Linked DNA regions of Homo sapiens: regions 2 and 3 are each linked to region 1. The links are contacts of gene promoters, found by promoter capture Hi-C in blood cells and fetal thymus (Javierre and others, 2016). All regions are on one chromosome and are shown on one strand. Each heading gives the region's core, a stretch centred on a gene start or on the middle of the fragment in contact. The rest is flanking DNA. Distances are from core to core; before and after follow the strand shown. Region 1 holds the start of VANGL2 (VANGL planar cell polarity protein 2). Region 2 overlaps CD48 (CD48 molecule). Region 3 overlaps ATP1A2 (ATPase Na+/K+ transporting subunit alpha 2).

Region 1 (4,425 bases), core at 1,294-3,793:
TCCTCGTTCAAACATTTTCTAACCCCTACTACTCTTATCTCCAGGCCTTAGGGAGGGTAGGGAGCCCTGAGGACTAAAGAGGGAACATTCCAATTGCACATGCCCATTAGAGACTCTAACATTCCAATTGCAATTGCCCAGAGACCATAATGGGTATGTACAATCTCACCTCAGCTCTTAAAACTGGGTGCCTCAACCCAGCCACTGGCAGCAAAAAGAGTGTGCAATGGGGGAAGGCTAGTATCCTAAAGAAGGAGGTGAGCAACCCCTTTCCTATACCCCAAAAGAGAAAGGATGAGAGAGGACAGGGAGAGAAGGGAGCTGTGGCTTCTTGGTGGAAAGAGACATTCACTTCCTGGATAGTCACTGACTTCCCACCACACTATCATGATGATGAGTATAGCAGTATAGCCTGCAATGGGTACCTGGCCCTTTCCCGACACACAGACACTCAGCCCTGGCCCCACACCCACAGCTCCATCTCAATCATGCTTGACACCAGGGAAAAGGGAAACTTTTTGGTCTGATAAACCACACAGACTCACTTGCAAAAGCTGCTGAAGAAACACCCTATGCCACCTTCTCAACCCCATGGGCAGGGAACCCAAGCTGTTCCCCACCAGGTCTCAACCCTCCAGACATGCTTCCTCCTCTTGTTTCCATCCCACACCAAAATCTCAAGACTCCTCAGGAACTTTAGGATCTTAGAGTCAGGGCAGAGTTAGAAGGCTATGAAGCAGCAAACTCTGAGACGGCTTTCCAAGAGAACTGTGGCCTGAAGCTTTTACCTAAGGCTGGGAATCCAAGAGTGTAGCTTCTCCAAGCGCTGGAACCCAGCCTATGACGATGGGGGAGGAAGTTCCTCTTATTCTTCTCCCTGACCCCGCCAATCTTCCAAATTCCTCTAGGACTACAACCAGACCCCTTGTTCCCTATTCCCCACAACACACGCCCTCTTCCAGAAAAACCCATCCCCCAAAAACAGGCACTTCATAAGACAACTCATTCCCTCCCACCCATAGGTCTCAGATACTTAAGGTACTACCCCTAAACCCAGGCGAGGCCATCCACGAAGTCTCAAAATCCTGCAGACAGCCTTCTTTTCGGGATTTTTGCCAGGAAAATCTGCCTGCAGAGTCTAGAGGTACCCCCGACACACACTCAGAAACATACATACCAGCTAAGGCAGGCACACACATTGATACCCATCAACACAGGTTACACACAAGAGAACACAGATTCACACCCCTTCCCAGTACACAGGTGCACACACACCTATCCACATACACTCCATTCTGCTCTTACACACCCACCTTCCTCAGTACCTACACACCTCTTTCCCGTGAACCCCTCTCCCAGTACACACACATAGACATACACGCCCTCCCCTAAGTATACATATAAACACATATCCAAACACACAGCAGATGCATGGTCAGCCGCTCCCTGGGTGCACACACACTCAAGCACAGAAAAACACCTACACATCCAAACCAGGGGCCCACCTGCAGGAACATGCAGCACGTCAAGGCGTGCACACACACCAAAACAAAGAATCATGCACACGGATCCTCCACCAACCCTTCAAAACTCACTAACGCAGAGCCCACAGTCCCCCAGATGGGTAAATATGAGTGGGGAGAGGGATGCCAGCGCCTGTCCCCTCGGCCCCTATACACAGTCTACCGCCTCCAGCCCCATCCTCGGTCTGTACATACACCCTATCTACTCTGCCCAACCCGCCCCCCTGACTCCACTCTACACCCTTAACGCATACCTGCCTCCGTCCCTCCCCACGCTCCTGAGGGGTGTATGCACCCCAAAACACCCTTGGCTTCCAATACCTCCAGACTCCGATCCTTCCACGCCTCTCCCCCCACCTCCAACACAAGCTCCCCGTCTCCGGCTTCAACCGGCTCCCCTGGGATCATTAAGGCCCCCGCCCGGGCCCAGGAAAGTCCCCGGCTCTCCAGGCCTGGGCTCCGCCCCCTCCCCACGAGCCCCTTCCCCTCCCCAAAGTTGGGGGGGGTACTCCGCTGTGCAGTGGGGAAGCGGACCGGAAGGGGGTTGCCCGGAGTCCAGCCCCCCTTCCCCCATAAGCCACCCCGCTCGCTCTGGGGTCGGGCACCCCCTGGCCCCTTGCATGATTTTCCTCCTTTTCCATTTCTTTTTTTCTCTCTCTTTCTTTCTTCTTTTTTTTTCAAACTTTGCCCGCGCCCCCGCGGCCCGGCACTCACCCGCCGCTGCGAACTGCCGGGTGGGCTCCGCGGGCGCCCCGCTCGGCCCGTCGCCTTTGTATCCGCAGCGCTCCGGGTCGCTCCGAACTCGGCGCTCCTGGACAGGCAGCGCGCGCGATGGGGGATGTTGAGGGGGGGGTTCTTGAGTCTGGTCACCCCCTGCTCCGTCCCAGACCGCTGCCTCTTCCCCCTCAAGGCCCCGGGGGCTGGGGGCCAGGGGGGAATAGGGGGCGCTCAGGCTCCCATGGCGGGACCAAGGATCAAGGAATCAAGGATCAGGAATCAGATCGGGAGCCGGCGGCGCAGGGGGGAGGGGGCGGAGGGGGAGGGGATGAGGGTGGGGGGTGCAGGGGGCGGGGGAGCGCGAGCTCCCGGGTGCCGCCTCCCGGCTGTTCCCACAGCCGCCGCCCCTCCTACCGCCGCGTCCATTGTCTGCGGCCCCGCTCTTCCCGGAGTCGCCGCTCCCCCAGCCCTGCGCCTTCAGATGCCCAGCGGCCCTCCCCGATCCTGGGAATCCGCGGTGGGGCTGACACTCGGGTCCCGAACGGTGGGCAGGGGAATGCCTCGATTCTTGGACTTGGCCCAGCCCGCAGTCCCTCCTGGGGCTGTCTTCCTGGACCCCTCCTGTCGGAGAAGGAGCCCCCAGATCCCTGGGGCTGGCCATATTCTCTTTAGGGCCACGGACCCGACTACACAAAATCCAATGGAATCTGGGACGTGGGAAGATTGATTTTTTTTTTCCCCCTAGGGGTCCGAGAAGGGAGGGTCATCCCTGATTTTAATTAGTGGCGAGAGGCGCACGCCTCTTCCCATGCATACGGGGATTTCCCTGACACCATCACCACCATATCCCCTCCTTCCAAAAATAATTTAATTACTTGGAGTTCTAGCTGCGAGCAGCGACCGCCCCAGTCAGTCTGGGACGCTCCCTCATTAACACATTTTTCCTCCCCTCTGGTTTGAGTGTTGGGATTAATTACAAAGGGAACCCTGCCTTAGGGAAGAAGGGGAGGAGGAAAAGACGCGGGCGCCTGGGAGTTTGAATGGCAGAGGAGAGGGGGCCTTCTCCCAGGAAACCTCCAAGAGGAAAAATGCCTTGGCCAGTTGGGTCCCCAACCCCAAGCAGGCAGATTGTCCATCCCAGGAGTTTCAGATACTTTAGAGTTGAAGGTGCCACACAGGGATTGTAGGATCTCACAAAATATCCTACACGTTTGGGGCATTTGTGCCTCCCAGTATGCCAAGAAACCAGTTAGGGTTCTTTTACATGTGACCCTACAAGAGTGAACCCACACCGTAAAAGCCTGGGCTGTGGGAAGTCCATGTTCCCCTTGGAGTAAGTGAAAGCAGTATTCAATTATCATTAATGTTATTGCCGTGCAACCCGCCACTTAGAGTAGTATCATTTCAAAAGCATCTTCACATACTTCTCCCTAAGCAGGCCAAGGCCTTTTCAATATCTCAGCCTCCTTCAGTTTCCAATCCTGGCACCTGCTTGAACAACCCTGTGATTAAGGAATCCCAGAGAAAGAGACTCCCAGCCTCTGTTCCTCACTTGTTTGGGAATTTTTGCTCCTCCCTGATGAAAACTATTTCCTGAGACCTAATCTCACCCCTTTTGATGGTTCATTCTAACCTGTCCAAAGATGAGGACAGAACCAACTATGCTGCATTGTTCAAAGATGCAGAACAGTAAAACACACTTCCTTTCTCCTTTGCCCAAACTCTGTCTTTCCTCATCCCCTCCTCCAGTAGTATGGGTAAGCAGGTGACTCAGCATCAAGACTACATGAAATATGCAGAATCATCATTTCAGGTACCCAAGTCCCTGCATGCGTCCAGGCACTCATTCACCTTGTGCCTATCATGTGCAGGCACTGGGCCGCACTGGGGCTCCTGGCAGTGACCACGACCAGGTGTATGAGGGAGTGGCAGGAGAGCTGGGGAAGGGTTAAGGGAAGTAGGGAGGACATGGGTGTCCCCAGCCCTGCCCCAAAGCACACCCCAGTGCTAGGCAGCTAGTGTGTAATTTGACACAGAGTCGGGGCTGCCGTGGCACTGTCTTGACTCTCAGGCAGATTTAGTGTGAATTATCTTCACATGCTGCTAGCCTGTTTCACAGACCCCAAAATGGCCCAAAGAACTGGAAAAAGGGCTTCTGATGCCAGAATTACAGATAATTCCATAG
Region 2 (4,425 bases), core at 758-3,257, 280 kb before region 1:
TGGTGAATCCCTAAGGTGTCTGGGAGAGCTGGGAGACGTGGGTTCTGCCACCAGCTCTACCACCACCTCCCAGCCAGCTTACCTCAACTTCGTGGGGGCTCAGTGTTCTCACCTGCAAAGGACGTTTGGGAGAGATCTCTGATACTCCTCTTCCCTCTCCCGCTCTAACAAAGCATAGTCCTAACATCTGAGGCCAGGGTCATCATAGAGTAGACTGAAACATCAGGGTGAGCAGGGAGAAGGAAGGGCAAGTGGGCGAGCAGCTGTCTAGAGGGGCTTCATTAGACAGCCGAAGTCAGCCAAGGAAAGAGGGACCGAGGTCATTAGACCGCCAAAGTCAGCCAGGGAAAGAGGGACTGAGGAGACGGGCCTGAGAGAGGCCGTCGAGGAGGCGTGAGAGCCTGAGCCTCAGGCGAAGCTTCTCCTCCCCAGCCTGATGTTCCTAGATGAACTTAGGAAGCCAGATTCCCCTGTCTCCTGGGAGGATCCACTCATGAGTGTCACACCTGGCTCTAGATCAGGCCTACACTGGTGCTAGCATGGGACAGCTAAGGCCATGGGTTTTAGAGTCAGTCATACCTGGGGTCACTTCTAGGACTGTCACTTACTAGCTAAACAAGTTACTTAGCTTCCCCAAGTCATGTTCTTCCTAAATAAAGGACAAAATAACAGTTCCTATCTCGTGCTAAGGATTCAATGAGACAAGACACGTAACTGCCTATCACAGTGGCTGACAAGTCCTTAGTAAGCGGGAGCTAAATGAGACGCAGTCTCTTAGAGTTTTGGGGACCCTTAATAAACTTGGATCAATATCTCCAGCACTCTGGGAAATACCAGAGTCAGATACCCTCCACAATCCTGAAGTCAGATCCCTGAGCCCTAGCGTACACATTCTTCTAGAATAACTCAGACCTGAGGTGCTCACATTCACCTGTGACCCCTGTCATGCCCAGTCATCAGGGATTCTGGCCTCTGAGAACGTTGCTGTTTTGTGGTCTTCCTGGGCTCTGTCTACCCTCCTTAACTGCACTGATTTCTTTATCTCTACTCCCACATGTGGACTACGGAGACTGTGTATGCTCTTCCTTATTCTTCCTAACTAATTGGCCCTGTCTCTACCAGCCTCTCCTGATATGCCTTGCTCTTCTGCCACCACAGACCCACTGTGACAGTGTGGTATCTGACCATGAGAACACAATTTGGCTGGTGGTTCCAACACCACCCTCATATCAATATCACATCCTGAGATCCAGAAAAAGGAAGACGCACATTCCCTGTCCTCTATAAAATGGGTGTGACTGTTCATCCGAAGAGAGGATAAAAGCAATAATAAATCCATTTTTTTTGGAAGGGTAAACCCATCTGTCACTTTTTAGTCACCGAAATTATCCTAGAAAGCCCCCTCAAACTCCTTTCCCTACTGTATCACTCATTCCTTTTTTTTATTTTCTCCAGCTCAGCCCTTCCCCACCCCAGCATCTAAGCTTTCCTTCCATCCTTTTTCTTTTCCTTTCCTTTTCTGTCTTCCTTTCTCTTCCCTTCTTCTTCCTAGTTGGTGCAGATACTTAGTGGGGTAGAGAAACAAGGAAAGGAAGTGGTCCTTTTCTCTCTAAAGTCAGCTGTGCATTGTATCATGTGGTCATCTGTCTGTACCTGAAGATCTACCCTACCTCGTTGATGTCCAGAGTAGGGGAGCAATGCTTTCCCAGGCCACAGATATGTCGAGGTAACCTTTGAGCACAGGGCCCAGGTAAGCCAGTGATATTTAAGGAATTTCTGCATTTTTTATACTTTATGTTTGGGGAGATTGAGGAAAAGAATGTCCCAGCCAAATAGGATGGGATTCAGGGAAGAAATTAATTTCCCTGCTCTGTGAGCTCCCACACCAGTGTCCAGTACACTTGCCCCTTCTCAATACATTAGTCAAGATAAAGATACCTAAGCATATAGGGTTTTCTTGCTCTTTCAGCCCGGTCCTTTGGAGTAGAATGGATTGCAAGTTGGCTAGTGGTCACGGTGCCCACCATTCTTGGCCTGTTACTTACCTGAGATGAGCTCTTTTAACTCAAGCGAAACTTCAAGGCCAGAAGATCTTGCCTGTTGGTGATCATGCTCCTCACCAGGACAGAGACTGTATAGGCTGACCAGAAGCATGCTGCTGAATTATCAACGAGGATTTTCAAGTTAACTTTTAAATACTGGTTATTATTTAATTTTATATCCCTTTGTTGTTTTCTAGTACACAGAGATATAGAGATACACATGCTTTTTTCCCACCCAAAATTGTGACAACATTATGTGAATGTTTTATTATTTTTTAAAATAAACATTTGATATAATTGTCAATTAACTGAATTCCTGAAGTTGTCCCAAATCTGTCAGACAGTGCCTGCTCCATCAGCTGGGAGAAACTGGAATCTGGAGACACAGAGGGGAGAGCCTGGAGCCACCGGCTCCTGTGTGTCAACACAGCTGAGGAGCCAATTTGTGCTACTTCTGACCCTTATTCCAACATCCATGCTAAGCTTCCTGGGGCTCCAGCTCCCCTGCCAAGCCTTTGCCTCCTTCCCAGTGGCTTGCCTTGCTCTGACCCCTCTGAGGACCACTCTCCTTAAGTCTGCTGCAAACATAGGTTCAGGCTTGCTCTCGCAGAAGGAAGGATGCAGCTCTATCTCATAAGAAGCCTTCCTGCCCCACAAGCCTCGCATAGGGAGCTGAATTCTCTCTCCTCTTTTCCATTGACTGTGTGGGCAAGTCTTCAACTCCTAGTCGTTTCACTGGATCCAAAAAAACCATCAGATCGACACAGTGTTCTCACCAGAGTTGTCCACTATATGCAGGTAGGCGCCCCCAGGCCCACCACTGACATAACACCTGGGATTTTTGCTTAATGTCCCCTCCTCTAAGTCTCCTCATGTGCCTGGAGCTGAAAGGGTCACTACAGAATGCACTTCCCCTTCAGAAAACTGCCCACCACAGACTGCTTGCCTTTCAAACCAGACCAGCCTCCCCCATCTCCCTCGTGGCCCTTCCCTCCTCACCCCATCTCCTCGGTGACAGATACAGTGCTATGTGTTTGCCAAACCTTCTCATTTTCCCCTGGGTGAGTGAAAAAACTCTTTTTCCCAGCTACTTTTGTGTTTAGCTGGAGCCATGTGATGAAATCTGTCCAATAGAAAGTGGGCGGCATGGATGTGGCAGGAGTGAAGGACTTCGGAAGTCTGGCTATATGATGCAAGGAACTGCATCGGAGCCATTGTTTGGAAGGCAGCTGCCTGCCCTACATTGCACAAGCATGATAAGAAAGGTAGGGTTTTGTCTTTTCCACAAGACAGCCTGGGCTTCCGAAGAAACCCCCCACCCTGAGCCCAGCCTGTAGTCCCATCCAAAATCACCTCTGAGCAGCCTGCATCCCCATCCAAACTCACTTCTGAGCAGTCTGCATCCCATCCGAACTCACCCCTGAGCAGCCTGCATCCCTATCCAAACTCACCTCTGAGCAGCCTGCATCCCCATCTGAACTCACCTCTGAGCAGCCTGCATCCCCATCTGAACTCACCCCTAAGCAGCCTGCATCCCCATCCGAACTCACCTCTGAGCAGCCTGCATCCCCATCTGAACTCACCCCTAAGCAGCCTGCATCCCCATCCAAACTCACCCCCGAGCAGCCTGCATCCCATCCAAACTCACCTCTGAGCAGCCTGCATCCCCATCTGAACTCATCTCTGAGCAGCCTGCAGTTCCATCCAAACTCACCTCTGAGTATCCTGCATCCTACAGGTGGACCATTTCCATCCCCTTTCTGTAAGCAGCACCCTTTTCCTTCCCCTCACTTTTCTCAGTGGAAGAAGAGGGTTTTGGGGGGAATTTCACGCGCACACACACACACACACACACACACACATATACACACACGCGCGAGCGCGAATGGGATAAACAAGCAGTAAGAAGGAAACAAATGCCACTTTCTGTCACAAATAAGCACATTCCTCAGCTGCTGAGGAACCAGCGTGCCTCTGCGGACATTGTATTTGTATTATTTCCAGTTACTGGAAACCTGAGGTAAATCTCACCTTAGACGGCTCAGGTCACAGACACCAACGGTTCCCTGCTCCTCCCATCCCTCAAGGCAGTGCCAGATACATAATTTGTGGGGCTCAGTGCAAAATGAAAATGTTGGCTCCCCTTGCTCAAAAAGCAAGGAAAATGTGCCAATAAAAGTACTGAAATATTAAGCCTTTTCTTTTCTTCCACAGTCTCTCTACTTGAGATGGTATTTTTTTATTTGCTTGCTATTTAATGCTGTTCTAAGTAAAGGCAAATTAAAAACTTAAATTATCATGAATTTTACTTTCTATATTTTAAAACATTAGTTTTAAATGAAAATAGAATATTTAATTCATATTTGGGATCATTGCAATTACT
Region 3 (4,425 bases), core at 1,339-3,838, 260 kb after region 1:
TGTAGGAACCTGAAACCAACTCTCCAGCCCAGGGTAAGTGGGCACAATGATCGTCGGTTTGAAGGGCATTTGCCTGGAGGGAACAGCCCTGCCACCTAAGACGTCAAAAGCAAATCATTTTTTTTTTTTTTGAGATGGAGTCTCACCCTTTCGCCCAGGCTGGAGTGTAATGGCACGATCTCAGCTCACTGCAACCTCTTCCTCACAGGTTCAAGCAATTCTCCTGCCTCAGCCTCCTGAGTAGCTGAGATTACAGGCGTGTGCCACCATGACTGGCTAATTTTTTGTACTTTTAGTAGAGACAGGGTTTCACCATGTTGGCCAGGCTCGCCTCGAACTCCTGACCTCATGATCCACCTGCCTCGGCCTCCCAAAGTGCTGGGATTACAGGCATGAGCCACCGCACCCAGAAAAAGCAAATCTCTTAGTATTTTTCCTCTTGTCCAAAGGTTCTGACCATGTTCATGACCTAAGCTTGTCCCTGGAAGCATACATGTCCCTGGGAGACAGGAAGGTTCAGGGAACTTCTCCACCCTGATTCTAGCCAATGGCCAGCGAACTCCTTTTCCAGGGTTGGCTTGGCAGTGTCGGGGAATGATGCAGGTTCATCGGGATGGGCATGAAAAGAAAGGGAATGGAAGAGGCTGGGAAAGAACTTGTGGCCATCCCTTTCAGAACAGCATGGAGCTCTGAGGACTTAGTATTACAGAAGGTGAAGTGTTATTAAGTACATGAGTGACATCCGGACCTTGTGGACTAAGAGGACCCCTAACCAAGGGTCAGCGGGGAACTCTGTGGCACACAAGTGTGGCATTTCTGGAAGCTCTTGATTGCCTTCTGGTCCTGCCTCTGCTGCTACCCTGATGAGATCTGAGTTTGTTCTGCTGGTGGGGTATTCTAAAATGTGGGACGTAGAGCTGGAGTCCACGACATCTATCTGGAGACTCATGTCAAATGTCCTGTCATTGGCACTACCTCACTTCCTTTGTTGTTTCCTTCCTCCAGCCAGCCCTACCTCCATCTCCCACCTGTCTGCCCAGCTCTCCCTGAAGGTCCCTTACCAGCCTCGACTGGGAGACAAGTCCACCTTTTCCAGTCTCAGGCTCTTGCACTCACCAGAAGAACCTTTTGTGATTGCAAGGTCTGAAGGGGAAGCCAGGGATAGAGTCCTGCAGGAAGCTAACGGGGGTGGAAGTGGGAAATGGAGTGAGGCTGGGGTGATCTGAGAGGGCTTCCTTCTGGTTTAGATGGGTTCCTGCTTTTGGATGCTGATCTATTACAGTAGGAAGTGGGGTTGAAGGGATGGGAGTGGGCAGGGTGGGGTAACCCTTAATTCCTCAGAAAAAATAGACAACATAGTGGAGTGGGATGGAAAAGGATCTGGTCGGGGGGACTCTAACACATAGTGTCTAATCTGATTGTTCACAGTTAGGTCTATGGGGTCATCACCCCAATTTATATACCCCGCAACTTAGCCTGCTGAGTTGCCTCATTATCTCTCCCCAAATGTTGCCACCCAATGCCACCCGTTATTTCCATCCCTCTCCATCACCATCCCCACAACACCTCCAGAGCTCCCCATCTTTCCATGCCTGGTTCTTCTTCCAATGGGGTCAGTAGTATGTCTCCTTCTCCACCCAGCCTGTTAGAGAGATTGGGAGTGGAGATTGCAGCATGAGCTTAAAAGGAGGCAAGAGATCAATTTCCTAGGGGCTTGGGTCGCTGAAGCCAGGTGGAAGGAGAAGCCTGGTGAAGGGCACTGGGGGAAGTGGCTTAGGAAGGTGGAAGGAGGCTGGGTGCAGTGGCTCATGCCTGTAATCCCAGCATACTGGGAGGCTGAGGCAGGCGGAGATCAAGACTCCTGGCTAACCCAGTGAAACCCTGTCTGTACTAAAAATACAAAAAATTAGTCGGGCATAGTGGCATGCGCCTGCAATCCCAGCTACTCTGGAGGCTGAGGCAAGAGAATTGCTTGAACCCAGGAGGCGGAGCTTGCAGTGAGCCGAGATCGTGCCACTGCACTGCACTCCTGGTTGGGCGACAGAGCGAGACTCCGTCTCAAAAAAAAAAAAAAAAAAAAAAAAAAAAAGAAGGTGAAAGGGAGGAGAAGGAGGTCCAGTGAGCTGGGGCCATAGGTTAAAGGAAGGGAGGGTGAACCTGCCTTTAGGGGAGACTTGTATTTAGCACATTGGAGGCTGGGGCAGAATAGGTCGAGGGTGAAAATGCAAACGCCCACAGGGCCTCTTCAGGTGACGAACGAGAGTCTAAGGGAGCAGCTGTCCATTCTTGCTGTGCAGAGATGTGGACATGGGATTAACAGCTCTTCTGATCTTCAGGAGAAGTCGAATTCAGATTTTATGTGAAAGACCCTAAATTTTCTATATCGGACCAATTAATCCACCCTCCTCCCCCCACACACACAAAATATGGCACAGGTCAAACCAAACAGTATTCCTGGACAGTATTTGGTTTGTAAGCCATCATATTTTAACCTCTACTAAGTGATTAAAAAACGCTTGTAGGAAAAACAATAACTTGTCGGTTGATGAGTGGGGATCAGGAGGCCTGGGTTCTAGTACCAGTCCTGCTATTCTTTGCTTTACGACCCTGAACAGATTCACCTCTGAGCCTCCTCTATCTGTAAAATATGGACGTGGGACTAGGTGACCTGGAAAGGCCCTTCTAATTCTGATGTTCTGTGGTTTCAGGTGGAAGGTGGAGGGCCTCGGAGACCAACTGTGAGTTAGGCGGGGTTTAGAATCTGATGGGAAGAGGGCAGAGACAACAGGTTCGAAAGAGTCAGGGCTCCTGGGACCTGGGACCCCAGGATCTGAGGGTGTTGAGGAACAGAAGCAGGAACCAGTAGTGGGAGTGGAGTCTGCGTGTGGTCCTGGAGGGAGGAGCTGGTGGTGGGGCTTGCACTTTGCTGGGGGGAATGTGGAGGGGCTTACCACCAGGATACCGCCGCAGGATGAGCTTTCGGACCTCATCATAGATGAAGATGAGGAGGCTGTAGGGGAAGGCGCAGAACCACCAGGTGACTCTGAAAGCAATGGAGGAGAGTGTCAGCAGCATCAGAGGTTGGCTTGGTGGCTGTCACATAAAGGAGCATTCAAAGCGATCAGAACTTGGATCCTGGAGGGGGCTGAAGGCCCCCCGTATGACTACTCAGGCCGCCCGAAAGAGACACTCACTTGAGCGGGTACATGCGGAGGGCTACACCCATGCCTGGGCAGTAAGAGAGAAAGGCAGCCAACGCCGTCTCCTCCAGGAGCCCAAAAATCAGGATCTTGTTCCTGAAAGGCAAAGAAAGGAGGTGGCAGGTGAAGGGGGATCATGGAGGCAGAGATCCTGGGATACCCCTGGGGTGCAAGGGAAAGAGGAGAGAGAATTCTAAACGACATAGTCGCATGTCTTCTTCCAACAGCCTCTTCTCATGCTTTATGTAACCAAAGGAAGATGTTATTTGTTTTTCTGCTTACTGAGTTTACGTCCGAATGTTGTCTATTGCACGTATATTCATTCATTAAATAATTGTTTCTAGGTGTTGGGTGACGTGTTCTGTACTGGAGACACGGTGGTCAACATGGGGCCTGTCTCATGATCTTGTTATTGCTCCAGGCACAGGGCCCATGAAAGTGTGTCTCCCCAGCAAGATGCTTGAAAGCTCCTTCAGTGCAGGGCCCATGTATGTCTTCTACCGTCTCAGCATCTCCCACAGTTCCTGGTGGTGGTTTCATTATAGATATTTAATTCAGAGAATGTAAAGGGGATCACTGCATAATAAGTGGTTAATATATGTTCACTTTATCAGAATTGAAAAGCAGGATAGAATAAGGAGGTTCTCAGGGCAGTTTCTGCAGTCAGACAGGTGGTGTCTATTCCCAGTTCTGCCATTGACTAGCTTTGGGTTGCAGGCAATGTTGAATTTCTCTGAGCCTCACGTTCCTTCTCTATCAAATGGAGATTTTACCTTTTTATCATAGGGTTGCTGGGAAAATTAAGGGAGATAACACGTGAAAAGCTCTGCAATGTTCTGTCACTGAAATGTTCAGTGACAGACCTGGAAAATGTTCAGTCACATTATTACTCCACTTTTTTTTTCTGAGACAGAGTCTCACTCTGTTGCCCAGGCTGGACGATCACAGCTCACTGTAACCTCCACCTCTTGGGCTCAAGTGACCCTCTTGCCTCAGCCTCTCCAGTAGCTGGAATTACAGGTGTGTGCCACCACGCCCTGCTAATTTTTATATTTTTTGTAGAGATAGAGTTTCACCATGTGCCCAGGCTAGTACCAAACTCTTGGGCTCAATTGATTCTCCTGTCTCAGCCTCCCAAAGTGCTGGGATTACAGGTGTGAACCACTGTCCCCGGCTACTCCATCTTTTGTATTCTTACACAAGGTACCTCTTTTTGGTTCAAGCC

What was found. Contacts are between HindIII fragments. The CHiCAGO score rates a contact against its expected background, and 5 or more counts as called.
Region 2: a contact is called between a fragment that was not itself captured here and the fragment with the promoter of VANGL2 in region 1, in 3 of 17 cell types (fetal thymus, erythroblasts and activated CD4 T cells). The highest score is 7.1, in fetal thymus.
Region 3: a contact is called between a fragment that was not itself captured here and the fragment with the promoter of VANGL2 in region 1, in 2 of 17 cell types (erythroblasts and M1 macrophages). The highest score is 5.4, in erythroblasts.

What each region holds. Positions count from the first base shown.
Region 1 is chr1:160,398,682-160,403,106 of GRCh38, reverse strand. It overlaps VANGL2 (VANGL planar cell polarity protein 2), which reads right to left and starts at 2,543. Exons shown (of 8, transcript NM_020335.3): 1 at 2,238-2,543. All of the region lies in intron 3 of LOC105371466 (a long non-coding RNA gene), which reads left to right. The HindIII fragment of the contact is 3,661 bases long and covers 784-4,425 here.
Region 2 is chr1:160,676,676-160,681,100 of GRCh38, reverse strand. It overlaps CD48 (CD48 molecule), which reads left to right. Exons shown (of 4, transcript NM_001778.4): 4 at 1,970-2,355. The coding sequence ends at 2,049. Among named protein-coding and RNA genes, the nearest start is that of SLAMF1, 32 kb to the right of the region's middle. The HindIII fragment of the contact is 1,041 bases long and covers 1,487-2,527 here.
Region 3 is chr1:160,138,511-160,142,935 of GRCh38, reverse strand. It overlaps ATP1A2 (ATPase Na+/K+ transporting subunit alpha 2), which reads right to left. Exons shown (of 23, transcript NM_000702.4): 21 at 3,195-3,296; 22 at 2,952-3,043; 23 at 1-1,642. The coding sequence ends at 1,614. Among named protein-coding and RNA genes, the nearest start is that of ATP1A4, 11 kb to the left of the region's middle. The HindIII fragment of the contact is 4,223 bases long and covers 477-4,425 here.